Regions from separate parts of the Homo sapiens genome. Here all the other regions are linked to region 2. Evidence: promoter capture Hi-C in 16 types of primary human blood cells and fetal thymus (Javierre and others, 2016). All regions are on one chromosome and are shown on one strand. The core of a region is centred on a gene start or on the middle of the fragment in contact, and the rest is flanking DNA. Distances in the headings are between cores, read along the strand shown.

What was found. Contacts are between HindIII fragments. The CHiCAGO score rates a contact against its expected background, and 5 or more counts as called.
Region 1: a contact is called between the fragment with the promoter of HEATR5B here and the fragment with the promoter of ATL2 in region 2, in 9 of 17 cell types (activated CD4 T cells, non-activated CD4 T cells, naive CD8 T cells and 6 more). The highest score is 12.5, in activated CD4 T cells.
Region 3: a contact is called between the fragment with the promoter of CEBPZ here and the fragment with the promoter of ATL2 in region 2, in 1 of 17 cell types (monocytes). The highest score is 5.5, in monocytes.
Region 4: a contact is called between the fragment with the promoter of EIF2AK2 here and the fragment with the promoter of ATL2 in region 2, in 1 of 17 cell types (monocytes). The highest score is 7.2, in monocytes.
Region 5: a fragment that was not itself captured here is called in contact with the fragment with the promoter of ATL2 in region 2 in 1 of 17 cell types (monocytes); the score reaches 6.6 in monocytes.

What each region holds. Positions count from the first base shown.
Region 1 is chr2:37,081,591-37,087,257 of GRCh38, forward strand. HEATR5B (HEAT repeat containing 5B) reads right to left here and starts at 2,782. Exons shown (of 36, transcript NM_019024.3): 1 at 2,679-2,782; 2 at 1,699-1,846. The coding sequence starts at 1,824. It overlaps GPATCH11 (G-patch domain containing 11), which reads left to right and starts at 2,928. Exons shown (of 9, transcript NM_174931.4): 1 at 2,928-2,980. RefSeq lists enhancers at 2,290-2,389, 2,860-3,019. The HindIII fragment of the contact is 3,413 bases long and covers 1,902-5,314 here.
Region 2 is chr2:38,373,660-38,379,586 of GRCh38, forward strand. It overlaps ATL2 (atlastin GTPase 2), which reads right to left and starts at 3,614. Exons shown (of 13, transcript NM_001135673.4): 1 at 3,484-3,614. The coding sequence starts at 3,601. RefSeq lists enhancers at 2,706-3,207, 3,208-3,707, 3,534-3,783 and silencers at 3,034-3,533, 3,754-3,913, 3,984-4,033. The HindIII fragment of the contact is 2,426 bases long and covers 2,201-4,626 here.
Region 3 is chr2:37,229,878-37,235,570 of GRCh38, forward strand. It overlaps CEBPZ (CCAAT enhancer binding protein zeta), which reads right to left and starts at 1,719. Exons shown (of 16, transcript NM_005760.3): 1 at 1,535-1,719. The coding sequence starts at 1,690. NDUFAF7 (NADH:ubiquinone oxidoreductase complex assembly factor 7) reads left to right here and starts at 1,781. Exons shown (of 10, transcript NM_144736.5): 1 at 1,781-1,883; 2 at 2,229-2,389. The coding sequence starts at 1,829. RefSeq lists enhancers at 1,064-2,263, 1,221-1,670. The HindIII fragment of the contact is 13,102 bases long and covers 1-5,693 here.
Region 4 is chr2:37,153,857-37,159,336 of GRCh38, forward strand. It overlaps EIF2AK2 (eukaryotic translation initiation factor 2 alpha kinase 2), which reads right to left and starts at 3,124. Exons shown (of 17, transcript NM_001135651.3): 1 at 3,052-3,124. RefSeq lists silencers at 2,914-3,033, 3,234-3,423 and an enhancer at 3,054-3,183. The HindIII fragment of the contact is 2,417 bases long and covers 2,294-4,710 here.
Region 5 is chr2:37,339,652-37,345,032 of GRCh38, forward strand. It overlaps LOC124907754 (a long non-coding RNA gene), which reads right to left. Exons shown (of 2, transcript XR_007086284.1): 1 at 4,076-5,381; 2 at 1-1,076. QPCT (glutaminyl-peptide cyclotransferase) reads left to right here and starts at 4,979. Exons shown (of 7, transcript NM_012413.4): 1 at 4,979-5,200. The coding sequence starts at 5,081. RefSeq lists a silencer at 5,350-5,381. The HindIII fragment of the contact is 2,579 bases long and covers 375-2,953 here.

The DNA of each region.
Region 1 (5,667 bases), core at 1,532-4,031, 1.3 Mb before region 2:
TTGTATGTACCTTGAGATAGAGGGAATGGTTGAGAGTCTAATAAGCAGAAAGAATCCTCTTCTTCATTATGGAAGCAGACTGAAAGTTTATTCTCTGGGAAGAGTGAAATATTGTATGTCCAGACTAGAAGAGTCCAGGCACAGTTGCGGTCTGGGAAAACTGCACTGAAAATGGGGAGATGCAGTGAAAGTTCACATACTGAACTTTAAAGTCCCCAGTCTTCTCCCACAACTCCAAGAATGTAGCCAGCTAGCTATATACTCTTCAGACACGACAGTAGAAAAGTATCTTCTGGGGAATGACTAGCCTACAGAAACCTAAAATACTAAGGTCAGGGACCAAACTAGCCTACAGTGAAGTCCAGTTTAAAAGACTGGCCCTGCTGAGAAAAGTTTTTACTACTCACTTTTAAATTTGATCAGGCAGCCAAAGATCATCAGACATTTGAGGGAAGTATCTACTTTTTTTTTTTTTTTTTTTTTTTTTTTTTTTTTTCAGATGGAGTTTCACTCTTGTCCCCCGGGCTGGAGTGCATTAGTGCGATCTCGGCTCCTTGCAACCTCTGCCTTTCCGGCTCAAGCGATTCTCCTGCCTCAGCCTCCCCAGTAGCTGGGATTACAGGCGCCCACGACCACGCCTGGCTAATTTTCGTACTTTTAGCAGTGTTTAGTAGAAACGGGGTTTCACCATGTTGGCCAGGCTAGTCTGGAACTCCTGACCTCAGGTGATCCACCCACCTCAGCTTCCCAACGTGCTGGGATTACAGGCGTGAACCACCATGCCGGGCCATATCTACTTTTAAAGACAGAATATAAAATACACAGACAATAAAAAGTAAGTTGAATCAATGTTGGGAACTGGCTCCAAAACTGGCCATAAATAAAATCTCTGCAGCACTGTGACATGTTCATGATGGCCATAACGAAACCCGAATGAGGGCAAGGAACACCTGGCCTGAAAACCGCTTAAAGGCGCTCTTAAACCACAAACAATACCATGAGCGATCTGCGCCTTAAGGGCATGTTCCTGCTGCACAGAACTAGCCAGACCCACCCCTTTGTTTCAGCATACCCCTTCGTTTCCCATAAGGGATACTTTTAGCTAATCGAATATCTGTAGAAACAATGTTAATGGCTGGCTTGCTGTTAATAGACACTTGAGTAAATCTCTGTTCCGGGGTCTCAGCTCTGAAGCCTGTGAGACCCCTGATTTCCCACTTTACACCTCTATATTTCTGTGTGTGTCTTTAATTCCTCTAGCGCCGCTAGGTTAGGGTCTCCCCAAACGAGCTGGTCTCGGCAAATCAAGGCTATGCAGGAAGAAAAAACAGATTAAAAAAAAAAAAGAGCCTATTATTGACTCCTCAAAGAGATAAGTGAAGACACTGGGATTGTTAGGCAGCATAGAGAGATCACTTGCAACGGGTGACGATGATAAATTTAAAGTGACACCAGTCATATAGCCATGTTTTTCTCCAGTTACAATGAGCTGCCCAGGTACAAACATAAAGAAGATAGGCAATGAGCTGGATTTAAACGAGGTTTGAGTTTTGCCACTAAATTTCCCATTCGTGTAATACTCTCAAGTTCCATAAGTGACCCATAAACCTTCCAAAACATAACATGTGTTTTCTTAAGAATCATGACCACATAATCTCTTCACGTTAATGCAACTGGGAAAAAAGAGCAATACCATACCTTGTTGGCAGCAACCAAGACTTTATCAAGAAATCGCAACCATTCAAAGATGAAAACTGGTCTTTTTGCTTCGGTGATTTGAGCCAAAGCTTCTTCATTTAGCAATAAACTGTGGGCTAACTCCATTACGGAAGTTTGAAATTCACACCTTAAATTTAACAGAGTAAAAAATACTTGTAAGTATTTTTTAATGTTAAAAGTCAAGCTTAATGGAATATACTCACTAAGAAAAGTAGGACTACTCATTTCATTTGGGGAAAAACTCAACTTCTTTGAGGCAAAACCTGAGAACATACTTTTAAATGACAAAAATACAAACAAAAACAGAAGAAAACTACTTGGTAAGGAAGAGTGACTCATGGAGTGAAAAGAAAATTAAAAGAAATTATTGCCAAAAAAGGCATTATTCCAGAAGAAATATGTCCAGCAACACATATGTCATTTACCCGTTCTATAAATGAAAAAACTGAAGCACTAAGATCAAACACCCCAGCCGGGCTTGACAACCATCCTCCTCTTTTTCTCGTCCAGGGTTCGGTACATAGCACCTTTACCCTCCCGCGCTGCACCTGGCCAGAGGGACTGAGGTCAAAACACCCAGCACAGACATCCCGAACTGCAGGTCTCCAAGACTCTTCCTACGCGGATGGGTGGGGCGGCCAGGCCCGGCGGCCGAAGCGTCAGTGACAACACCAGGCGGTCCGGAATGCACCCGAGAAGCCTCGCGCGCTCGGGGTCTGGCTTCACCTGGCTACTCCAAGAACCGCAAGCGGCGGACCCGGGGAAACACCAAGAGGCCGCCGCAAGCCTCCGTGGGGTTCCGCAGGCTGTCAATAGCACGAGGCGGCAGCTCGGAACTAAGCACGGAGCCAGAAAAGGGAAAATGTTCATTACGAACTCAAATGTCTTCCCCACCCGTCTGAAAATGTACGTCGGACAGGAGTCCGTGCGTGTCAACATGCATGCTTCGGCGACCTCACCTCGTAGTCTGGAAGGGAAGATCAGCTGAGCTCCGGGGGTAGAAGCAGCCACCAAGAGACCCGGATGCCCCACCTCCCGCACTCCTACCTGCAGGAAACAAGGGAAGAGCGCTTGCGCGGAGGGCTGGTCTTGCGCAAGCGCAGTCACCACGTCCTCCTATCCCCACCCGCCGCGAATTTCCAATAGAGTCTGCACTAGGAAACTGGTGGGAGCCGAGGTCCGGAAGTCCGACGCTGGTCGGTGGGCGCATGCGCAGCGCGCGCTCTACGGCGCTGAACCGGGGCGAGCAGAGAGCTGTCAGGTAAGAGAGCTGTCAGGTAAGGGTCTGGGGACAACCGGTAGAATGATAAAAGGCAGAGTGCGCTGGCCATGACTACCGTATCACACCGTCAGCCACTTTTCCATCCGTGGGTGGTTGCGTCTGTGGGACGCTTGCAGCCAGGAGGAACGCGTGAGGGAAGGGATCAGCGGTTCCTGAGCGTAGTATTGAGAGTGGGACGTTTCTTGTCACATTTATACTGTAGGTCCATTTCTCCACTTGTATATGTAATGGGACTCTCAATATGTCTGTTTCCCGACTACGCCCCCTAAAAAAACAAAAACAAACCTACTCCTACAGTCTTCCCACTCTCAAAAAACGTTAACTCCGTTCTTCCATGTATTCAGGCCAAAAACTTAGCGTTATCTTGACATCGTTCTTTACGTACTACCTACAACATCAGCAAATCCTGTAAGCTCTACCTTCAAGTGTACCCCAAATGCGACCACTTGCATTGCTATCACTCTGGTACGAGCCTCCATCATCTCTGCCAGGGTATCGCCTTGTGAAGTTTATGCTTATCTTTGATGGAAATGGATAATGCTAAAGTATATTTTACCAATAGAAAGAGAGCTTTAAAAGCAACCTGTAACCCCATTCAGATGTGCCTGGCACTTTAAAGTTAAGTAGGTCTCTTAAAAACAATGTAATCCTATTTGCAAGGCACTATGACCCGGATTCTTTGTGGTTTTGAAATAGTCATTTAGCCATACTGAACCTTAATTTCTCCAACAGGAAAAACTCTTCCTACCTTGTAGAGTTGTTAGTGGTGGTTAAATGTGATAAAAATGTGTGATATACTGGGTAAGTGTTAAACCATTATGTGTAAAAATGCTGTTATTACCAATGAAGAATCTGAGGTTTAGAGGAAGCGGGTGAATTACCATAAATGCTGTATATAATAGTGCACGTTTTTAACTTATAATAAAAATAGGTAAACTAAACTGTAATGTTTAAAGATGCACACGTGGATGACAAAACTATCGAGAAAATGAAGGAAATGATTGCCATAAAAAACAGAATAGTGACTATTCTTAGAACCAAAAGAGAGTTGCAACTGGATAGGGGACAAAGAGGGCTCCCAGGTGCCTGATAAGGTTCTACTTCCTGATAACTTTTGCTACATAACAAATTATCCCCAAATGTAGCAGCTTAAGATAACTGTAATCATTTGTTATCTCACAGTTTCTATGGGTCAGGAATTTGTTAGCAGCTTAGCTTAGTTTAGCATGGACTTTCTTAAGAAGTTGCAGTGAAGATGCCAGCCCAGGCTGAGTCATTTGAAGGCCTGACTGGAGCAAGAGAATCCATTTCCAAGGTAGCTCACTCCTGTGGCTCATGAGTTTGTGCTGGCTTTTAATAGGAGGACTCAGTTCCAATCGTGTGACCTTCTCCATAGAGCTTCTTGAGTATCCTTATTATGTGACCACTGACTTCCTTCAAGTGAGTCATCTAACTTCAAAGTTAGAATGACCTAAGAGCTGCAGTTATGACCAAAAAATCAACTCCATCATCTCCACAAAATCCTGTTGGTTACACAGGTTAATCCTGTTCACTGTGGAAGGAGACTACACTAAGGATGTAGAAAACCACACAGCAAGAATGACTGGGAGTCATTTTGGAGGGTACCACATGGTTACAAGAATGTTTGACTCACAGAAATGTATTAAGCTGTACATTTGTTTTATGTGTTTTCTGTACGTATTTAAAAAGTGTTTAAAAATGACTTGTTGACATAGGAAAAAGTTATAAAATTACAAATATTAAAGACCCTTTTTATCCTCATTGTTGCTAAACAATTATTAAGCATTTGTGTTTGGGATGCAGTGGTAGGTAGGGAGGATATAGGGGACTTGTCTTTGTGTTTAACACAAGATATACATTATCTAGTTGAGAAGATATACATTAAAAATATAAAAAACCAGGCCAGGTGTGGTGGCTCACGCCTGTAATCCCAGCACTTTGGGAGACCGAGTGAGGCAGGTGGATCACTTGAGGCCAGGAGTTTGAGACCAGCCTGGCCAACATGGCAAAACCCTGTCTCTATTAAAAACACAAAAATTAGCTGGGTGTGGTGGTGGATGCCTGTAATCCCAGCTACTCGGGAGGCTGAGGCATGAGAATTGCTTGAACTCGGCAGGTGTAGGTTGCAGTCAGCTGAGATCACACCACTGCACTCCAGCCTGGGTGATAGAACGAGATTCTGTCTCAAAAAACAAAAAAGAAAACCATTAAAAATTAGTATAGTAATCCTTTTTTCATCCAGTGTAATTGTCTAGACACTTGGTTGCAGTTGACAGAAACCCTACTTCAGCAAGCTTAAGTAATGCAGAAATGTATTAGTCTATGTAATGGGGTAGAATGCTAAGTCGCAGCTTCAAAGAATCCGCAGCCTTGGAAACTAGGCTCATTTTCTCTATCTGGCTTCATTCTTCAGACAAGATCCCTTCATGGGGCCAAGAAGATGGCCATCCACAGCCCAGCTTCACATTCTCCCAGTTCAGAAACACCCATAAAAGACCTTCTTTCCCCCACAACCCATATATTCATATAATGTAAGGAAAAAGATGGTTATTTCTCTGGCTGGGTCATCTCGTCCCCTGGTGCTGGACATAGAGTACTATAATTGACCATCTTTGTGCCCAAGGAAATATGGGATACTGACATTG
Region 2 (5,927 bases), core at 2,364-4,863:
CAAGTTTAGCAATATGTGTATATACCCAAGCACACAGAGACACGTTCCATAACTTGGAAAATCATCTGTAAAAGTTATTTTGGCTTTGCACTTCTGAATACTTCATGCTTCTCCATGACCATAACAAACAGAATTGTTCTACTTCCTTTACTAATTGTTCTACTTCTTTCTATAATATCTACCAAGTATTATCCTATTGCCATCATATTTTCAGGTTGGTACTTTCTTCCTGCTATCCTTTTTATGGGGGAGACAGAGTTTCGCTCTTGTTGCCCAGGCTGGAGTGCAATGGCATGATCTCGGCTCACGGCAACCTCCACCTCCCAGGTTCAAGCGATTCTCCTGCCTCAGCCTCCTAAATAGCTGGGATTACAGCCATGCGCCACCACACCCAGCTAATTTTGCATTTTTAGTAGAGAGGGGGTTTCTCCATGTTGGTCAGGCTGGTCTCGAACTCCTGACCTCAGGTGATCCACCTGCCTCGGCCTCCGAAAAGTGCTGGGATTACAGGCGTGAGCCACCGCACTCAGCCTGCTATCCATTTTTAAAGCCATAGAGAAAGCCCTCGAGTGTTGTGTATCATGTGCTGTGTGGAGGACTAACGGATAGGAAGAAAACTACTAAAGTAATGAATTCACTGTGGAATCAAGTTCAGTTATTCTATGTTCACATCTACATTCCTTAAAGTAAATAACTCTCAAATTTTCTAGAAAGTAAATAATACACCTGGACTTTGAAAACCCAAAATGTCTACAAAATCAGAATACCATTACACGTTAAAAACAAGAAAGAAAAGAAGAAAGCTGCTTCCCTGCACCTATCTGGAGAAAATCTTTGCGCTGTAAAGCTCTAAACCACCATTACCAAAAAGTTTAACTTCTACTCCTATGCCTTACATTTCTGGCTCTTAACTTTTTAAGGGCCTGACAAACAGCTTTGCTGACAATTGTGTGTGTCAAACAGGTCTTCCAAATGACCATCAACAATTTTTTAATACATCTTGCTATGAAGTCCCAAAATTTAAAAAATATATGTTGAACTCCATCCAGCATTATCAAACTAGTTAATCAGTCTCCCCGTACTCTTAGCAGCTAGCTGCCTAATACCAACTGTGGAAAAAGCCTAATTTTGGAAAAGGTCTAACAATTTCAAGAAAGTTACTTATACTTGTGAATATTCCAAAACTTTAAAGTTACAATACAGTCACAGAAAAACGAATCCTGAAATACACCTATGTGCACTCGACTTAAGGCCATAATCTTATTTTCACTCAGGGTTTCTTTTCCCTATAATATCTTTACTGTAAGGCAGCTACTTCTCCCTAAATAATTTCGAAGAATTTCAAAACACTTTACTAAATAGATTTAATCATATCTACAGAATCCTATCAACTTAAAAAGCCAATAAAATGAGTACTTATTTGCTTTCTAAAGATCCTACATTCCTAAAAGAATAAACACAAAGCCTCTCCCTAACACTAAACTACTCAAGTGACACTTGACCCCAACTTGGTTTTTGAAGCTATTTCTCCAGGAAGCAGAGGGAGACAAAGAGTTTCTACACAGTCAAAAATAGATGAGTCCTTTTCATTCAGTCTGTTTCTTCTCACTTTAAACACAAATCCTACCAAGCTCATTTAGTTTTTAACTCATTAATGAGTGACTCGGAGCAAATTAGCAGGTACAGGGACTGTTTTAGGCAATCATTTGCTAGGAATGGCTATCAAGTGAAGGTCTTGCTGATCCGTCCTAAAAAACAAAGGACAAAAACCTATGAGTAGCAGACAAAAGCATTTATTAAATAATAAATGGTGGGCCCTATTTCAACAACAATCTGAAGAGTATCATCTCTTCTCAAGATACCACAGCACAACAACGTTCACAACCATAACTGAAGTATAAATTTATGTTTCTTCTAATAAGGTAAATACATAGAATATTTTGAAACTGCATCTAAAACTCTTACCTCAAAAAAAGGAAAGAAAGAAAGAGAAAGAAAGAAAAGAACACACACTTCTTCCCCTAGGGTCCAACCAAAAGAGCGAAATTAATCCATCCGCATTCCAAAACAATTAATTACTTAAGAAATCCAACCAGCACACATCTAAGGCGAAGCTGCTTCTTTGGTAGTTTTTTATTCTACAGAGTGCTACCACTGTACAAACAGTCAAGCGTTTTGGTTGGCAGACAATAATAAAATAAGCTTTATTTCCTTTTCTTCTTCCCTTAGCAAAACTCCAGTCTGTCATCACCTCTGACATGCGCCAAGAACTACCAGGAATGATGAAGTATATTTCAAATAAACTTTCCTATTAAAGTGAGTCCTTGTGGTTAACATCATACCAAAATGCTTTACATTTTATCCAGCAAAACCTTTACACACCGTAAAAAAAGAAATCTTAAGACACGAGCTCGTATCTGTATTTAATAATAAACTCTTATCTTGGCCGTACTTACCAAATCGTAGGCTTTTACTATTTATAAGCCTTTGAAAAAACTTTATGCCTTTCTTAAGTACCATCAAAATTTTCAATCAGGATTTCATGCGATCAATTCGCACCACAGTGAGAGATCAAACGCTAAACTCCTATAAATAGGGGTGTTATGAGTGAGAGGGATACACTGCGCTGCCAACGCAACTGCGTCTTCGAGGGGGCAGGGGCGCTCCTGGTACACGTACAGTAGGAGCTCACATTCAGCAAAACCAGGGAGCCAAGGATCAGGTGACTTCACACTACAGACACTTTCAGAGTGATCAGGCCTTACTATCGTCCAAGTGACTCGTAAACGGCTCATAACCCCAGTTTGACACGAAAATCTAGACTTGCACCCTAGCCACGCACAACCCGCGCGAATGGGTTCGGGAGCCGAGGAGCCCCGAAACGCGAGCCCGGGGACAGAGCCCTGGCCTGCGGACTGCGGTTCCCTCCAGGAAGGGTGTCTAAGGAGCTTTCGGACCCGGCAGCAAGGTGTCTGCTCCCCGCGCGACCTCCTCCTCCGCGGGGCCCATCATGCCCTGGCCACCCCTTCCTCCCTGTCCGCGTAAGGGACAGCGAACGCCCACCAGCTAACGGGTCGCCCCGCCGCGTCCGGAGCTCGCCGGACGGAGCGGAGCCGCAGCCGACCTCCCCGCGCCCCGGGCAGGCGGCCACGGCTCAAGGCCGCCCCCTAAGGTCGGGGCGGACACGGCGGCAGCCACGCGGCGGGCTGGCGGGCAGGGGGCCGGGCCGGTCGCAGACGCGCGCGCCACTGGTTCTCCCAGCAGCTACTGGAGCCGCGGCCCACGAGCCGCCCTTTCAGGCCGCGCGCTGCGGGAGCGCGGGGCGCGGCTGAGGCTAGGCCCGGCGGGCAGGCGCGGCGGCGGGAGGAGACCTGAACCAGCCGCGGACTCCGACCCCGCCGCCTGCGGCCGGTGCCCGCGAGCCCGAGCAGCGAGCGTCTCTCCCCATCAGGGCCCCGCGGCCTCTGCCTCGCTGGCCCGTACCTAGGGAGGTCGTGGACGAGACGTGGTTAACCGCGGCGCTTGGGTCGCTGGTCCGTCGCCGGCGCCACAGCCCCTGGTGCGGTTGCTGCCCTCGCGCTGCCTCGTCCCCCTCCGCCATCTTGTACCGATTTAAAATTAACTCCCCACTGACGTCAAACGCCGCCGCCGCTTTATCAACCTCCCGGGAGCCGGCGGGGTGGCCGGCGGGTCCTAGCGCCGCTCTCCGCCTGTATCTCCTCGCCCTCCGCCTGTATCTCCTCGCCCTCCGCCTGTATCTCCTCGCCCTCCCTCCGCCCCCGCCCCGCCCATCGCTCGCTCGCTCCGCCCTCGCCCTGCCCGCCTGCAGATCCGTCTCCCCGGCTCCAAGTTTCTGGTTGGACTGGGGCGGGGGTGTCCCTGCCGCCGCCGTCTCACACCCCCACCTCCCTGAGCTCAGCACCACACCCCCTTAGCGCTGGGCCAGGCTCTGCAAACGCAGAAGGGAGCTCCAGAGAACTAAGTCCCTCCCTCCCAATTCGCTTTACATCTCTAATCGTTGATTCGTGCGTCCTGCACGTGAGGTGGCTTTCGCACCCCTTCTCTCCTTTTCATCGCCCCCTCCTCATCACAGCCATTCCCCTCCTCTCTCCCCATCCACCCCCCAAGTTGTTGCCAGTGCCCTGCTTTTCCTCTTGATCTTTTCTTTCCTCACCCAAGTCCCTACTGTTGCTTCCCCTCCCCCCCACCATCCTAAGGTTTGTTTGCATTCGCTCCCCATCTACTTATGAGACCTTCCCCCATCTTCTCAACTGTGTATACCCTGGCCCTGTGCTCCTAGCACCTTGCAGAGGCATGCCAGAAAGCACTCTAATCGGAAAATGAATCGTGGCAGGTTCTTACCTAATTGTGATGAACCTTCTTCTGGGGATCCAGTGACATCCAGTAGAAAGTTCAGGTCACTTTTTAAATTACAAGTCAGCCCGTGGAGGCGTCTGTGAAACATGATCCCTTTGGATTTTTACCATACTGCCAGCTGCATTAGAAATTCCTCTTCTCCAGTAAAAACAGATGTCCGGGTGTACAAACAGCTGTTTTGTCCAGGTCTTTTCATAAGTCTAAAATTCACAGCATGCACAATCTCTAGAAAAGCACTGGTGTTATTAAAGCTTTCAAAATACCATTCTAGGTAGGGCATGGTGGCTCACGCCTCCCGGGTTCAAGCAATTCTCTGCCTCAGCCTCCGGAGTAGCTGGGATTACAGTCCCCCGCCACCACACCCTGCTAATTTTTGTATTTTTATAGACACGGGATTTCACCATCTTGGCCAGGCTGGTCTTGAGCTACTGACCTCGTGATCCACCCGCCTCAGCCTCCCAAAGTGCTGGGATTACAGGCGTGAGCCACTGCGCCCGGCCCATCCAAATATATTTCAACAGAATATGGAGTTTGTCATCATTGTCACATAAATCTAGGAGAATAACTATATACGTGTTCTTGGCAATATTCTTTGAGTTACTAAGATTCTAGTTCTGGGACTTGAACCACCTCCACAATCTAAAGTACAGTTACCCTTCCCCCTCGTTCATATTGATGGCAGGATCTTTATCAACTTGTTAAGTGATATTCCTCTTACGTCCTTGTGATATATGATTTGGAGAGCTCACTTTGTCAAGACATTTTCTGTTTTATCATTGGCCTGAAAAACGTAGTATTGAAAAGGAAGAAAAAGAAGAAGCAGAAGCAGAAGAAGGAGGAGGAGGAGGAGAAGAAGGGCAAAAAAATCTTCACGAGGATTGTTCTACAAAGATTTATTTACTGTCATTTACTCACTAAAAAACATTTGCTTAGGCACATAGAAAAAAGAAACCATTTACAAACAGCACAGCATAGGCCATTTGCTAAATTAAGGTTGATACAGTCAGTGACAACAAAAAGCTACCTGAATCCTTACCAAAGTGCAGTGTTCACCTAAGCCAAATCACCCTCTATGCTTAGTATAGGCAGTCCTTTGGAAGATATTGAATATCTTACATGTAATAAAAGACCTTATGGTTTCCCTCACTGTGCCTTCGATTTTAAGGACTTCAATTCTATCTACTAATCTAGGCTGCTACCCCATGTGTTTCGTGTTTTGCTTTGCTTTTCTCTTTTCTTTTCTTTTTTTTTTCCTTGCCTATGTTCTTCTCTTTTTGGTGTTCTGCCTATCTTGGCTCCCAAACCCACTCTCTCCCCCATCTGTGGTTACTATGCCTGAATCAAGAGAGGTCAAACGCTTATTTAAAAAAAAAAAAAAAAGGCTGGGTGTGGTGGCTCATGCCTGTAATCCCAGCACTTTGGGAGGCCGAGGTGGGGCGATCACCTGAGGTCAGCAGTTCAAGACTAGCCTGGCCAACATGGTGAAACCCCATCTCCACAAAAATACCAAAATTAACTTGGCATGATGGCGGGTGCCTGTAATCCCAGCT
Region 3 (5,693 bases), core at 469-2,968, 1.1 Mb before region 2:
GAGATGAGGTCTCCTTATGTTGCCCAGGCTGGTCTCAAACTCCTGGACTCAAGGTATCCTCCCACCTCTGACTCCCAAAGTGCTGGGATTATGGGTGTGAGCCACTGTGCCTGGCTCATTTCTACAAATTTATACTACATATACACTTACAAAAGTGGGGGAAAAACACGATTAAGGTTATTAACTGTAGTATTATTTAAAATAGTGAAAGACTGGCAATAATTTAAATATTCACAATAAATGGCTGGTTAGATAAATTAAGACAGACAAAATGATTTATGCAGCCATAGCAATGACACAGAACGTTATGCACTGATATAGAAGGATTTCTAAGACAGAAAAGAAAGCAAAATGTAGAGATAGGTGTATATATATGGTACCATTTATGTAAAAAAGATACACCCGTATTTCATACACATAAATGAGTATGTATATGCTTGAAAAGGTATATAGTATCCCTGAAAGATATAAAATGCAGTTGTAAAAATAATTGCTTCCTATCAGGGCAATGGTTATGGCTGAGATAAAAGTGGAAACAATTTGACTTCACTATGTATCTTTTAAAGTTTGCACCACGTGTTTCATGTGTATATATTACCTATTCAAAACTTAAATATACACAAGCACAGAGCAAACTGTGAATCTGCCTATCTCTAACTAACTCCTCCACCTTGAAAGTCCAGTCTCCAAACAAAATAATATTAAAAACAAAGTTAATTTCTGTTCCTTATCTGCTTAAAATCTTCCAGTGGTTTTGCATCAAACTCAGAGCAAAAGCCTGCCCTCTGACCCCTCGGCCCTCCTTTCTTACTATTCTCCCCTTAACTCACTCTGCCTCTGCTACACTGGCATTTTGGCTGCTCATGGAATAGGTTAGGCACTCTTCTGCCTGTCTTTGCATTTGCTGTTCCAACTGACTGGAATGGCAGCTCACTCCTTCCTGTCCTTTAGGATTCTGCTCAAACATTTCCGTGATGTGTTTGTCGATCATCTCATTTAATACTAACGCGCTCCCACTCCTTATCGTCCTTCCTTGTTTTATTTTCTTTTATAGCACTACCCCGCGTCTGCTGTACTATGTGTTTAAAAGTTTGTTTACTGTTTCTCTCCCTTAATTAGGATGCTCCAAAAAAGAGGGCTTCTGGGGCATACAGTGACACGTGCATGTACTCTATGAGAACAGAAATGAAAATTCCAATACCACTGGTGTTCAAAACACTCATACCACAAGGTCAGGACCAAGAAAAGCCACTCTCCGACCTGATGGTGTGATGGTTATACCACGTCAATAAAATCAGAAGATCGCCTACATCCTAAGAATAGCCAGAGAATACAACGTTCAATTCGAAACTTTTCTTTTGTAAACAGCAGTGGAAACCGGCGTGGGAAGCGCACCGAACACATGCTTCAGAGGCTGGGATCTCGGTCCTGGACGCCCGCGCTCTACGCAGCGCGGAAGCGGCGGGGCAGTCAGCCTAGCCACCTTCGGAACTCTCCACGCCTGATCCCGTTCCCCGGAGCCCGCGGCCGTTACCTTGGTGCCTCCGAGCCGTAACACTTCCTCCAGGGAGAACCCATTCTCGGCTTCACTAGTATTATCCTCATCCTCCTCGTCCGGATCTTCTACTGCCTCCTCGGGGCGCCAAGGCCGCTTGGCATGGAACTCCAAAGGCTCCTTGACTGCGGCCATGGCGGGCAAAGCATACGCGCGTGAAACTCAGCCTATTTCCGCTCTGCCAGTGGCGTAATTCCTGTCGGGGCGTGTCTTCTCCCGGAAATGGTCTAAGCCCCAGCTCCTGGCGGAGCGAGCTAGCCTGCGAATTTCAGCATGAGTGTACTGCTGAGGTCAGGTTTGGGGCCGTTGTGTGCCGTGGCGCGCGCAGGTAAGCGTCAGTCCCCTCGAAGCCCGGTTGCCGTGGAAGCCGCGTGGGGCGCCTTCCTCAGCTCTTCAGTTGAGGGTACCGGGGGATCAAGGGCTCGGGGGCTCACTTCCACCTTGAAGGTACCCTGGGCTGGAAACGGGTCCGGTACAAACGCAATAGGGCTGCGTAGTCGTGGGCAAGTGGGTGCTGTCTCTGCGCCCCGTGGGCGTGCTAAGCACAGTAGCCCGCGGTCTGCGGTGGGGCGAGGTTAAGGGTTCACGAAGCTGTTTTGAAAACGCTCAGGCGGCTTGCGCTCGTGAATGGTCAGATTTATCATGGGGTCTGTTTAATTTGTGTTTTTCGCAGCCATTCCTTTTATTTGGAGAGGGAAATACTTCAGCTCCGGGAATGAGCCTGCAGAAAACCCGGTGACGCCGATGCTGCGGCATCTTATGTACAAAATAAAGTCTACTGGTCCCATCACTGTGGCCGAGTACATGAAGGAGGTGTTGACTAATCCAGCCAAGGTATGGGTCGGGTAGCCCGAGGACTAGGCCCTCTCTAGCCGATTTGCGAGGTGCAAGCCAGGAGGGAGAAGCCCGAAGGTTCTCAGCCCAGGCAGTGGGGGTGCCTGCCAGGGGAAGAGCCATTTCTGAGGACCTGGGGACAGATAATTTGTCAGTTGGTCAGGGCTGGCTCACGTCAGAGGCAGTGCCAGTAAAGAGGAGAGGACACGGTCCAAGGGTGTTTAGGAGACAGAATGTAGCTGATTGGATTTATGATGCGGGAAGGATGACTTTCCTACTTGGCTGATGGTGGGTGGTGTGGATTCATTGCTTTGGGAGAAGGAATACGGGAGGAAGGATGGAGAGTTCAGGCTGGTATATGAATTTGAAGTGTGTGGGACTCTTAGGTAGAAATCTCCAACAGGCAGCTGGAAATAGGAATTACTGCCTGGAAAGTCGTCTGTGTTGGAATGGCTTCAGCTGGCATTGGAGACATGTGCTGGGTTTTCTCACATGTGCAGTTGAGAATGCAGTCTGGGTCGTCTTCACTGTTCTAGGATTAGGCACAGTCACAGCTTTCTGACCCACGTTTCCTTGTCTGTTCTACAGAGCCATTTGGTGAAAGCCTATAGTCCTTTATTTTAGAATATTTCATCTTTTGCTGGGTTGAAATATGACCTCTGTGGAATTCTGGGGTTAGATTGGCCATTGTTGTTGGATATGGTAGTGTGACTCTAGTGTCGAGGTTTACCCAAGGCCGGTATCTTTCTTTCGATGCCGGTTAGGCAGGGCTGCAAGATAGGTGGCTTAGACTAGTGTGGTGGTACTAGAAATAGAAGAGGGTGATTTAGAAAGGGACTGACAGGATTTGCCGATGGATTGAGTGATGGAACGGAGGAATCAAGGCTGATTCGTACTTTTAGCTTGAGCAGTTGGGTGATGATGGTACCTTTTATTGAGATTAAGACAGACAGGACCAGGTTTGGAGGAGTACTAGGGAGAGGGCCTACACCAGGAGCTGCATTTTATACATATTTTGTTAGCAGTGACATGCAGGTGGAGATAGAAAGTAGGCAATTCGCTGTAAGAGTCTGGCGTTCAGGGCCGGACGTGGCGGCTCACGCCTGTAATCCCAGCACTTTGGGAGGCCAAGGCGGGTGGATCACGAGGTCAGGAGTTTGAGACCAGCCTGACCAACTTGGTGAAACCCCGTCTCTATTAAAAATACAAAAATTAGCCGGGCGTGGTGGCTTGTGCCTGTAATCCCAGCTAGTCAGGAGGCAGGAGAATCGCTTGAACCCGGGACGCAGAGGTTGCAGTGAGCCTAGATTTCGCCATTGCACTCCAGCCTGGGCAACAGAGCGAGACTCTGTCTCAAAAAAAAAAAAAAAAAAAGTGAGCCTGGTGTTCAGAAGAAAGACTGGGCAGGCATATATACATTTGCTCGTCATCAGCATATAGGTCATATTTAAAGCCAAGGAACCAGGGAGAACATACTGAGAGAAAGGAAGGTTTCCCAGCATTGAGAGTAGGGGTAACTCTAAAATGTAGAGGCTCTTAACCTAGGGACCCTTTAATAGAAATCAGGGGTTTCATGAAGCTGGATGGAAAAAATATTATACCTTTATTTTCACTAACTTTCAACTGAAATTTAGCATTTCTTCAATTATGAACATACGCAGCAACTAGTAGCATCAGCAATACCTGTGACTTTGTCATCTGTGGAAATCATTGGTATTTCCTTATCACAATACAGTGATCACAGGCATCTCAGGATTTCATCGTGCTCATCCTTACTTCAAAATTTTGTTAATTATTGGGTCTTTGGCTTGATTATGGGCTTTTTTGTTTGTTGGCTTTTTGAGATAGAGTCTCATTCTGTCACCCAGGCTGGAGTGCAGTAGTGCAATCTTGGCTCACTGCAACCTCCACCTTCAAGGTTCAAAGGATTCTTGTGCCTCAGCCTCCCGAGTAGTTGGGATTACAGGTGTATGTTTCCATGCCCAGCTAGGTTTTTTGTATTTTCAATGGAGATCGGGTTTTGCCTTGTTGGCCAGGCTGGTCTTGAACTCCTGGCCTCATATGATCCGCCTGTCTCAGCCTCCTAAAGTGTTGGGATTACAGGTGTGAGCCACTGTGCGCGGCCTAATTATATTTTTTTAATACACTAGTAAAGAAGTGTATATATCACATTTTTTAGAACATTTGATACACATTTTTCAGTTATTTCTTTGTGGTTCTGTGCATTTAAAAACACTCTGTGAAGGGGTCTATAGGCATCACTGGGCTACCACAGTGGTTCATAACACAAAAAAGCGTAAATACCCCAATAATGTTTCCTTATGAACGGAACTAGAAAGCCTAGAAGAAGAGATGTGTGGATTGAAAAAATGTTCTCAAAAATGGGAGTGACTTGATTTATTTTGAATGCTGAAGGGGGAAAGTTGAAGCTGGAAGAGAGAAGGGGACAGCTAAAAGGACTCAGGGGAGTTGTATGAGGAATGGTCCAGAGCACAGGCGGAGGGATTAGGTTTGGATGAGAGGAGAAGGGGAAGGCATTTCATTCTTGGAGTCCCCAGATTAGGTTAGAGGCCAGGTGGGGATGGGAAGCTGAGGAATTCGTATTTTATAACATTCTTTAATTCTGGAGTGAGACTGGGGCCCATGTCACCTGTAGTAAGGTGGTAGAATAGGAGCTTGAGAAGCATAAGAAATATTTAACTCAATTCTTGAGTGTTTCTTGAAGGTTAGGCATCGTGCTAAAACTTGGGATATGAAGATAAATAAGGCATGATCTTCTGCAAACAACTATACTTTGTGGTGAAGAACAGAGACAAATTAGCTCAGAAAAGGTGGCACTGGATTTGGCCTTAGGTTGGAGGGCTGGAGGAGGTCAGCTAGGTGGCATTTGAGCAGATTCGGAGGTTGAGTATAAGACTGCCAGGGAAAGTTGAAAAGGGAGAAGGGTGAGGATTTGCAGTGGCATGGATGTCTGGACAAGCAAGGCTAATAAGAAAAAAAAAAACAACCCTTTTTCTGGAGATATAATATTCATATAGAAAAGTTCATAAACCACAAGTTTACAGCTCAATGAATTTTCACAAAGCAAATGCTCCCATGTAACCAGCACCCAAATCAAGAAACAGAACATCACCAGCAGGCAGGGCCCATATGTGAGGCAGAAAGTGTTAGAATTTGGAGAGGAGGCTGGAGGAGTAGGCAGGGTCTTGCTGTGTTGGGTGTGGGAGCTGGGAGGGGAGGAAGGGTCTGGCGTGCAGAGATGGACGTTACATGACTTCTGCCTTTACGGTCAAGGTGTAATTGT
Region 4 (5,480 bases), core at 1,874-4,373, 1.2 Mb before region 2:
ACATGATAATTCTGTTTAACTTTGTGATGAATCACCAAATTGTTTTCCACAGTGGTTACACCCATGTTACATTTCCACCAGCAATGCACGAGGGTTCTAATTTCTCCACATCCTCACCATCACTTGTTATTATCTGTTTTCTTTTTTAATACAGCCACATCATGATCTTTTTAAAACATCAATTCAGTGGCCAGGCGCGGTGGCTCACACCTGTAATCCCAGCACTTTGGGAGGCCAAGGCGGGCAGATCACCTGAGGTCGGGACTTCAAGACCAGCCTGACCAACATGGAGAAACCCCATCTCTACTAAAAATACAAAATTAGCCGGGGTGGTGGCACATGCCTGTAATCCCAGCTACTCGGGATGCTGAGGAAGGAGAATCGCTTGAACCCAGGAGGTGGAGGTTGCGGTGAGCTGAGATCGTGCCATTGCACTCCAGCCTGGGCAACAAGAGCGAAACTCCGTCTCAAAAAAAAAAACAAAAACAAAACAAACAAACAAAAAAACATCAATTCAATCATGCAGTCTCCACAAGCCACTGAAATTGTTTTTGTCGAGGTTACCAATGGCTTCCCTATCACTAAATCCAGTAGTCAGTTCTTAGTCCTTCTCTACTTGACTTACAACCAGCATTTGATGGGGTTGCGCATCCTCTTCGCCCTCCTCTCCCTGTCTTAGCTTGGACTTTTAAGACACCCACTCTCCTAGTTTTCTTCTTTTGAGACAGAGTTTCGCTCTTGTTGCCCAGGCTGGAGTGTGATGGTGGCATCTCGGCTCGCTGCAACCTCTGCCTCCCGGGTTCAAGCGATTCTCCTGCCTCAGCATTCCGAGTAGCTGGGATTACAGGCGCCCACCACCACGCCCGGCTAATTTTTTATATTTTTAGTAGAGACGGGGTTTCCCCATGTTGGCCAGGCTGGTCTCAAACTCCTGACCTCAGGTGATCCACCCACCTTGGCCTCCCAAAGTGCTGCGATTACAGGCATGAGCCATGGCACCTGGGCCTGGTTTTCTTCTGTTCTGACAAGCTACTCCTTTTCTGTCTCCTTTCCTGGTTCATCTTCAACTTCTTTTCTTCTATTTTTTTTTTTTTAACCTTTTCTATGGTTCTAACTTCCTCTTTTCTAGATATTCTAGCATCACTGGGCCCGGTCCTTAGACTTGCTCTTTTCTACTTGGACTCACTCCCCTGGTGATCACCTCCAGGTTTGTGGCTTTAAATTCCACGGACACAATGATGGTTCTCAAAAGCACGCTTCCACCATGGACTCTCTCCTGAACTCCCAACTGCCTCTGTCCAACCTGCTCCCTCCTAAAATGCCCTTGACTCTATTCCTTCTGCTGTCTTGGCCTGGTCAATTTCTACTTCCTACAGATTTCAGCTCAAAATCCCAGACACTCCTTCACAGGCTCTTCCACAGTGCTCATCCCCTTTATTAAAATTGCTTATTTAACTATTTTCCAAAATAGAGCATGAATTACTACAGGTAAGGGACCAGGCTCAATAATGAATGAGTGAGTACCAAAATATCTCCAGATACCCCATCCAGGACTTGTCACCTGCTTTTCTCTACATTTATAGTGCAATATCTGCATTCTCTCTGTACCCACCAATATCCACTCATCTATCAGGATCAACACAGCCTTCTTTGATGCTGGAGGGTCAGCTAGTATGGGCTTGCCACTCCACCTTGCCCAACCTTCAACACAGCCCTGACTGCTTTTTAAACTAATTAGTGAGCTCTTTGGGGAGCAGATTCTACATCTTATTCACTCATCTGGAAGAAACCTCCATCATAATCACTAAAAAATAATATTTGTCCATCTTACTAATGCCCAGAAATTATTTTGGCTATGCCTCCACTTCCTTTCCAGCAGACTACATACAGCCTGGCCAACACGGTGAAACCCTGTCTCTACTAAAAATAAAAAAATTAGTTGGCTGTGCTGGCGGGCACCTGTAGTCCCAGCTACCTGGGAGGCTGAGGAAGGAAAATCGCTTGAACCTGAGAGGCAGAGGTTGCAGTGAGCCCAGATCGTGCCACTGCATTCCAGCCTGGCGACAGAGTGAGAATCTGTCTCAAAAAAAAAAAAAAAGAAAAGAAAAGAAAGAAAATGTCACCAGGTGATAACTACTATGTTGACAACCGAAGTAGTGGAAGGGGGAACAGCAAGGGCAGAGCGGGGTTTCTTGTATAGGCAGGTTGTTTGAGGAAGGCTGCTCTGATAAGCTGGCATGGGAAGCAGTGCAGGATAAGGGAGGGATTTCCCCATGCAGTTATCTGGGGAAGAAGCTTTCCAGAAAGAAGAAACAAGCAGTGCAAAGGCCTAGAGGCTGGAGGATGCTTGGCTGTGCACCAGGAACAGCAAGGAAGCCAGCGTGGCCGGAGTAGGGGGTGCGAGGGGCCTTGCCTGTGAGCCTTAATAAATGTTTATAGGATTCTGATGAGACAGGAAAGCTACGGGGAAGGTCGGAGCAGGGGAGAGTCTGGTTCTTACTTAAAGGAACATTCCAGATGCTGAGGTGTGGAGAAGAGGTAGGGGGTGGAGGTTCAGGGGTGAGGATACGGAGTGGGAACAGGAACTGCGGCCAGGCAATTGGGAAACTACTGCAACTCTCCACGGAAGAGATTTTTAGCCAAAGATTGTTCAGCCAGTCTATGAGTATTTCAGGCCTCCGTATTTTCCATGTGTCAAGCCACTAGGCCTATTCGTCTTCCACTAGACCCCGCCCCACAACTGCTGCCTGGGAAATATTTGTTACTTGCACTGATAAAAATTCTTCACGGGAAGGAAATGGCTTTCAGTCCCCACCCCGCTCCACGATCCTTTCCCTGGATTTGGGGAGGGCCCCACACCCGGGCTGCGGACCTGGGCCTGCTCTCCCAGTGCTGACCCAGCCGGGGCCAGGGGCTTCGGATCAGCGTCCGCGTCCTGAGCTGGGGACGCAGGATTGGCGAGTCCCGCCCCGGCTGGGCCTGCAGCCCCTCGTACGTGGCCCCCCGGCCCCCGCTCCCCGCGCTCCCTCGGCTGCCCCCTGCCCTGCTCACCTGCGCCGCCGCCGCCGCCGCCGCCGCCGCCGGCCGGAGACCCGCGGCTTCGGGAGAGCTGGTTCTCAGTTTCGTTTTCCCCTTGGACTCCGCCTTCCCTGCAGCCGCCCGGCCCCCTCTCGCACAAGCCCTCGTCTGCTACGGGATTGGGGTAAATTGGCGCTGGATCCAGAGTGCGCGCGAGAGGCACTGGCGGGCGGGCTTGGCACCGGCGGGCGGGCTTGGCACCGGCAGGCGGGCTTGGCACCCACGTGCTGCCCCTGCACGGCCAGGACCCTGCACCCCCATCCCCCGCCCCCGGGGCTCCTAGGGTTCTCCGCTGGCCTAGTCCGCTGGCCGCACTAGGTTCTCGAATCAAGGGTTCCACTTACTCTCAACACAAATATTTGGGGTGGGGTTGGGAAGATGGATCTTACCAGCTCCATTCTACAATAGAGGAAACTGAGTAAATGAACTCACCCAGGGGTCCTGCCGCTCGTAAGTGGCAAAGCCAGGATTCAGTTCAAGTCGGGGCCTGTAAACACCAAAGCACTCTTTCCCTCTTGCCACACCGCGGCCCCCTCACCTTTACAAGCCTGGGGATCAGAGGCCTGGGGGCGTAATCTCCTTCACTCCGCTCCCACCCATCCATTCATTCATGAGCAGACACTTGCCAGCCGCTGTAAAAGCACCTGTGGGCCAGTCCTGCTGCTAAATAGAGACACCTGCTTCCTACAGTACCCCAGGGAGCTTCCTACCATAGTCCAACACCAGTAGTCCTCGATTTATAGAAATTCTACTCACCTGATGGACTGCGACACACTCCCAGAGTCACACAGAGTTCCAGAGTTCATTGGCACAGTGACTAATGAGTATTGAGGCACAGAGAATTTGGATTAACACAGGTAGTAAGCAGCGGAGTTAGAATTATAACCAGGAGTTTGTACTCTCAGTATCTTAGCTGGGATAAGAGAGGAAGGTGGTCCAAAGACAGACCTCAAATATACATTAAATATTATGCCTAGGCCGGCGCGGTGGCTCATGCCTGTAATCCCAGAAATTTGGGAGGCTGAGACGGGCGGATCACCTGAGGTCAGGAGTTCAGGACCAGCCTGGCCAACATGGCAAAACCCCGTCTCTACTAAAAAACACAAAAATTAGCTGGGCGTGGTGGCAGGCACCTGTAATCCCAGCTACTCCAGAGGCTGAGGCAGGGAGAATTGCTTGAACCTGGGAGGCAGAGATTGTAGTGAGCTGAGATCATGCCACTACACTCCAGCCTGGGTGACAGAGTGGGACTCCAATTCAAAAAAAAAAAAAAAAAATTACACCTAGGCAGGCATCCTCTCCAGCCTCCCTTCTCCATCCCCCAACAACCCCACATTGCAGGGTATCAACAACTAAAATCTACACTTTCCTTGTAGCTCTGGTCCTGGGCATAGCTTAAGTCCCCTATATGTAAAGCACTGGCGGGAGGTTTAGAAGGTAGACATGAGGCAGAGCCATCTTTTTGTGGCATTTCCAGGTGACAAGAAAACTCTGACAGTGCTGTGTGTCCATTTGTCAGCTTTGTGGGTGTGGGATGGCTGTGGCAGCAGCAATGGCAGTAGCAAGGACAAGTTTTTCTGACTTTTTGAGCCCCTGAACTGCCCAAGAGAGCTTAAAGAATGAAAAATGGCAAGCTTAAGCATGATCAGAGGACACACGCTTTTATGACTGTACCAGAAAACCCTCCTATTTCAGGGAGCCTCAGGGGTGATGTAAAAATCTGCCTTCTCTGCTGGGGAAAGATTTGGAAGGAATGATATCAGAGGGTTGGTGATGAGGTCCAGGGGAATGATATGATATGGGTGAACCTCTTGGAATGGGTAAAGTGTGAGCATATTGGACTCCCTGAGGAGCCCAATTCCCTACTGTCTGGGCTCTCAGCTGCAAAGCTTGGTGCTGCAGGCACCAGAATTACAATATAATTGTTTTGAGACAGAGTCTTGCTGTGTTGCCGAGGCTGGAGTGCAGTGGCACAATCTTGGCTCACTACAACCTCTGGCTCCCGGGCTCAAGCAATTTCCCTGCCTCAGCCTGCCAAGTAACTGGGATTACAGGCGTGTGCCACCGCACCTAGCTAATTTTTGTATTTTTAGTAGAGAAGGGGTTTCACCATATTGGCCAGCCTGGTTTGGAACTCCTAACCTCAAGTGATTCCCCCACCTCGGCCTTCCAAAGTACTGAGATTACAGGCGTGATCCACCGCGCCCAGCCTAGAATTACAACAAAAATTTTCATTTGCAGCCTCATCAGGTCTCTTCTGTGAACACTGAGGGCATTGATTGTGAAAGAAAGAAGCCCTGGGAATTTGGGTGGATTTGAATGAATCCAAGTGCCACTGCCCTCCTAAATTCTGCTGTGTCTCCACAGGCTTCCCACCATTGTCTGATAAGGCTGGTACAGCC
Region 5 (5,381 bases), core at 414-2,913, 1.0 Mb before region 2:
GACCCCACACGGACATGTAGTAGGAAAAAGGAAGAGTATTTTAATAGCCTCTTCAGATAACTGTGGATAATCTCCTTCATTATTAAATCAAAACATAACAAATGATAGTGTCATAAAAGGTACAACTTAAAATCTGCTTCTAAATACATGTTTTTATTCCATTACATTAAAATCCACTGGGTGTCTCTTATACTTTGAGTGGAACTTTTCTTTGTGACTTTGTAACATGATGAATTGAACATTTGGAAAATATTGCTTCACTGAGTTATGCAGATATTCCAAATGTTGAGCATTTCATTATATATAATAAATAATCACATTTGTTAAAATCACCAATTTTGTCATAAAAGTTGTTGCATATCAGGAAACTATCAAGCTTATGGTAGCAGATACAAGTTATCCAAAATTCCAATTTTTACTGCAAAGATCCAGTTTTATCACTGGCAACAAACAGTGTCAGTTATTTTCCTTCAAGGGATAGGCGCACTTTATTCATCTTCAAATGTCTGCCAAATATCCAAGTCTGAATAATCATAATTTATCAGTCATTGTTCTTTCAATTAAATTGGAATTTCATGAAAAAAGTAGCAAGTTCACTATGCTTCTCTCTCTCTCTCTTTTTCTTTTTTTGAGACTGTCTCTCTCTGTCACACAGGCTGGAGTGCAGTGGTGTGATCTCTGCTCACTGCAAACTCTGTTTCCCAGGTTCAAGTGATTCTCCTTCCTCAGTCTCTGGAGTAGCTGTGACTACAGGCACCTGCCACCATTCCCAGCTAATTTTTGTATTTTTAGTAGAGATGGGGGTTTTATCCTGTTGGCCAGGCTGGTCTTGAACTCCTAACCTCAAGTGATCCACCTGCTTTGTCCTCCCAAAATGTTGGGATTACAGATGTGAGCCACTGCGGCCCACTATACTTCTGAAACAACGGTACAAATGCTTTTCTTTGAGACAATTGCCCTTTGGTGTGCAGCAGAAGTGTTTGATTTCTACGTCTTATTTTCCCATGTGAGTATAAAGAGCTGCATACTCTCAATTTGTGCTTCCAGTTAAGATGGAACTGGATTTGTCATCCCACCTAAAATATATTAAAAATGACATTCACAATGGATTGGATAAAGAAAACGTCACACACACACACACACACACACACACACACACGCACACACACACACACACCCTGGAATACTACCAGCAATTAAAAATAACAAAATTTTGTCTTTTGTAACAACATGGATGGAACTGGAGGCCATTATCTTTAGTGAAACAGCTCAACTAGCACATGTTCTCACTTATAAGTGGAAGCTAAATAATGTGTACACAATGACATGAAGAGCTGAATAATAGACATTGGAGACTTGGAAGGGTGGGAGGGTAGGAGGGATGAGAAATTACCTGATGGGTAAATGTATACTATGTTTTCAGGTGATGCTTACACTAAAAGCCCAGACTTGTCCACTATGCAGTATATCCATGTACCAAAACTGCTCCTGTACTCTCTAAGTGTATAAAAATTTTTAAAATGATGCTTAAATATTGGAAAAGAGGTATCACAGGAAAGTGGTGAGAAAAGGGAAAATGAAATGAGATGAGCCTGATGTTTTCTCCAGCTTACTGCTTTGAGAGTTTCCAGGATGCAGTGCAGGTAGGAGGAGTCCACACAGAGCTGGTGGTCTCCATGAGATGAAAACGCAGACGTGAGGAGCTCTCTCTCCTCCTGTACTCTGTCCTGCTAGATTTAAAATCTAGCTTCATGGAGAGACAGCTTCAGAAGGCAGTAAAACAACAATTTTATTACTTCATCAATGACATTCTTAAGTGAAACTGGCTCTTTTTCTTTTCTTTTATCGTCCTCTTCTTTTTTTTTTTCTTTATGCGTGGCAGTGAAAAATACTAAGATGGCTGGGTATGGTGGCTTACGTCTGCAATCCCAGCACTTTGGGAGGCCGAGGCAGGTAGATCACCTGAGGTCAGGAGTTCGAGACCAGTCTGACCAACATGGTGAAACCCTGTCTCTACTAAAAATACAAAAATTAGCAGGGTATGGTGGTGCATGCCTGTAATCCCATCTCCTCAGGAGGCTGAGATAGGAGAATCGCTTGAACCTGGGAGGCAGAGGTTGTAGTGAGCCGAGATGGCACCATGGCACTCTAGCCTGGGAAATAAGAGTGAAACTCCTTCCAAAAAGAAAGAAAGAAAGAAAAACACAATGACTACAAGTATAGATTTTCCTCCTCAATAGTACAGTTTTGTGTCCTGTATTGACAGTTGCTAAGGTGCCAGCATTTTTACCCATCATTGCTTTTGCAACATCAGTGCAAAGTCTATACAGTAGAAAAAATGAATCTTGTTTTGGTATTATTATAAAAGTTGATTTGACTTTGGAGACAGCCAAGAGGGTCTTGGGGAATCCCCAGTATCCATGGACCACACTTTTGAAAACTATTGTTTTAATAGAACCTTCTGGTCATTACTACTTTGATCTAATGGCGCCACTTTAAAGGTGGGACTGGGTGTAGGAACATCCTGCCATGGCAGCTTCATGGAGAAGATCTGTTTTGGCAATTGGGTCCTTCATTTCCTTCACATCACAGTATGGAATCTATACTATAATGGAGGTAAAAATTTCTCCACTTGAGAACAGTGTTATCACTGTATATACAACACATTTTTTCCATGATGAAAAACAGGGTCTGAAACTTTAATTAAAATGGAAAAGTCATTAGTTATCTTCCATGGGAAGAGTTTGAAGAAAGGAAAAGTTGAAGTAGGGCAAAAATAGCAGATATAAGGTATTTCTAAACGTTTCCCAAATGAAGGAAGAGAGAAAAGAATGAGCGAAGGAAAGGAAAAGGGTATTTAGTGTGTAAGACACTAGAAAAGATATGCATAAGGAATGAAGTGATACATACATAGTGGTGTTGGATTTGTAGATTCTTGGAAAGTTGGCAGAAAAGCTTACATGTAAAAAAAAAACCAATGTATTGAAATCAGTCTCACTAGCTATGTGGAATGTTTTAGATTTGTACCAGATACAATACGTTTGTGGTGGATACAGGAGATGCGCTGCCCAGATCTGCCCCCAGGGAAGGACCCTGCTCCAGCTGTTGGAGGCCGGCTGGCCCACAGCCTCTAGCAGTCAAGCTCTTTTGGCTGGAAAGCCGCTTGCAGGAAATCACTCCATGGAGGTGCAGAGATAAGGCCCCAGACATTTTGGCCCAGTATGGGACAACTTTGACCGTCTTTTTCAGCTTCAGGACTCCCATGGAGTTGGGTGAGGTTGTTGGGCCCGCTTTGCTGCTAACTTCTCCCTCTGTTCTCTCCTGTTCCCCTTCTTCCTCCCACAGGGGTTTGTCCCAAGGGCACTCCCTAATACACATCCTGCATGTTAAACTCTTGTCTCAGAGTCTGCTTCCTGTAGATACCAAACTGTAAGAACATCTTATTGACTTAAATATAACCAAAATTGGAGAAACTTAGGAAACAAAATCATCATTACGTTATGTGCTGACATTTTAGCTTATTTCTATATTTCTTGTTTTGAATTGCTCATACTTAGCATGATAGTACCTCTCACATTTTGTTTCATTTAGGTTTGCTATTTCCACGTTCTCTTTCTTATAGGAACCATATTGTGAAAAGACATAAAGGTAATAGGGTAAAAAAAAGCAAATAGGCTCTTTATTACCCAGCCACTCAGGAAATGCACTATTTCAAGGTTGACCCAGGCAGCAAGAGAGGAGCTGTATTGGGGAATGTGACAGTGGTTTAGTTCTGAAACTGGAGCCAGTAGAAAGTTCTGAAGGGGGTCCGATGATCAGAACTGTCTGTGGGTTTAATAAAGGTGTATTTAATTTTATTTAAGCCTGGAGATTTAAATTGTCACTCAAAACTCTCAGACATGAATAGGGTTAGCAAATCTGTACACCAGGAAAGGAGTTATTTACATCCTGTCTTCTCCTACAGCTCCAGAGGAGGGCAGAACAGTGTATTTCCAGGCAAGCCCTCTCTTTAAAAACTCATAGCCAAGGCTGGGAAGACAGAGTGAGTGGGTGGGCCTTCTGGCAGCTTCCTTACCTTCAAATCTTTGCTCTCTGTGAAATGGTTCTGCTTCAGTATCCTTGTTCTGATTTTTCTGGGAACTAGATGTTACTGGGAGATGACTCAGAGCAGGCCAAGCCCTGATCCTCACTGTGGAAGCAAAAGAGGCTGGTGAAAGTCACTGTCCTGACAACTTGGACCAGAAACCTACAGACAAAACTGAAATGTTTTCCTGCCCTAGGATTATCTGGATAACAATGACCTTTGATGTTACAAAGTAAATAGAATTGTGTTTGGCTTTTCCTTTTGGGGCCATGCCTTGGAGAAGATGACTCCTTCAGAGCCGCTGTGAATATTGTAGATCTCATTATTTCAGATAATTACTTTGACCATCCTTTTCAATTTGAGAGTATGATGTGAGGCAAGGCAACTATTTGTGAGAAAAAAGAGAAAAGGCAAAGATCCACTGTCATACTTTTGCTTGTGGGTTCCAGTCCAGGCTTTCTATGGGGGGTGGGGGGGTGTCTCAGTCTCCCCGTCTGTAAAATGGGATTAGTGGATTAAATCCGGGAAGGTTGGACAAGCACCTAGGACGGTGCCTGGTGCCGTGTTCAGCAGACGTCGATTCCCTGTCCACCCCTTCTTTAGGAGCTGTGGGAAACACTTCATAACTCCCCAGGGTCTGGTGAACCCTTCCTCCCTTTTCTGTTCCCTGTTTTGGCATTGGAGATCATAAAAAGGCTCTTCCATGTCTCTTGCTTCCTTCCTTTCATCTTCTCCAAGAGAAGGAAGTGGCCGCCTTTGTTAGCTTGGGTTCAGAAGCTTGTGTCTGTCACCCAGGGCCGCCCAGCCCCGGGGTTTGCGAAGGTCCGGGGTAGGAGGGCTGCAGCCTGCGCGACGCGGCGGGAGGCTACCCGGGGGCGATGGGAAGGCGGGCGCAGTCGACCCAAGGGTGGAGAAGAGGGAAGGCGAAGGACGCGCGTTCCCGGGCTCGTGACCGCCAGCGGCCCGGGGAACCCGCTCCCAGACAGACTCGGAGAGATGGCAGGCGGAAGACACCGGCGCGTCGTGGGCACCCTCCACCTGCTGCTGCTGGTGGCCGCCCTGCCCTGGGCATCCAGGGGGGTCAGTCCGAGTGCCTCAGCCTGGCCAGAGGAGAAGGTGAGGGGCTGTTTCTGCGTAGTTGTACTTGAGCGGCTCTGGTCCGATGCGAGGACCCCTGGCCGGGTCAGCCCTACCTAGGCAGAGCGGGAGGCGGGGCAGGGCCACGGTCCCCAGCCCAGGCACCGGCGCCCCACCCGGCGCCCGGAGGAGTCGGGGCTCTGCATACTCGCCGGGGTGC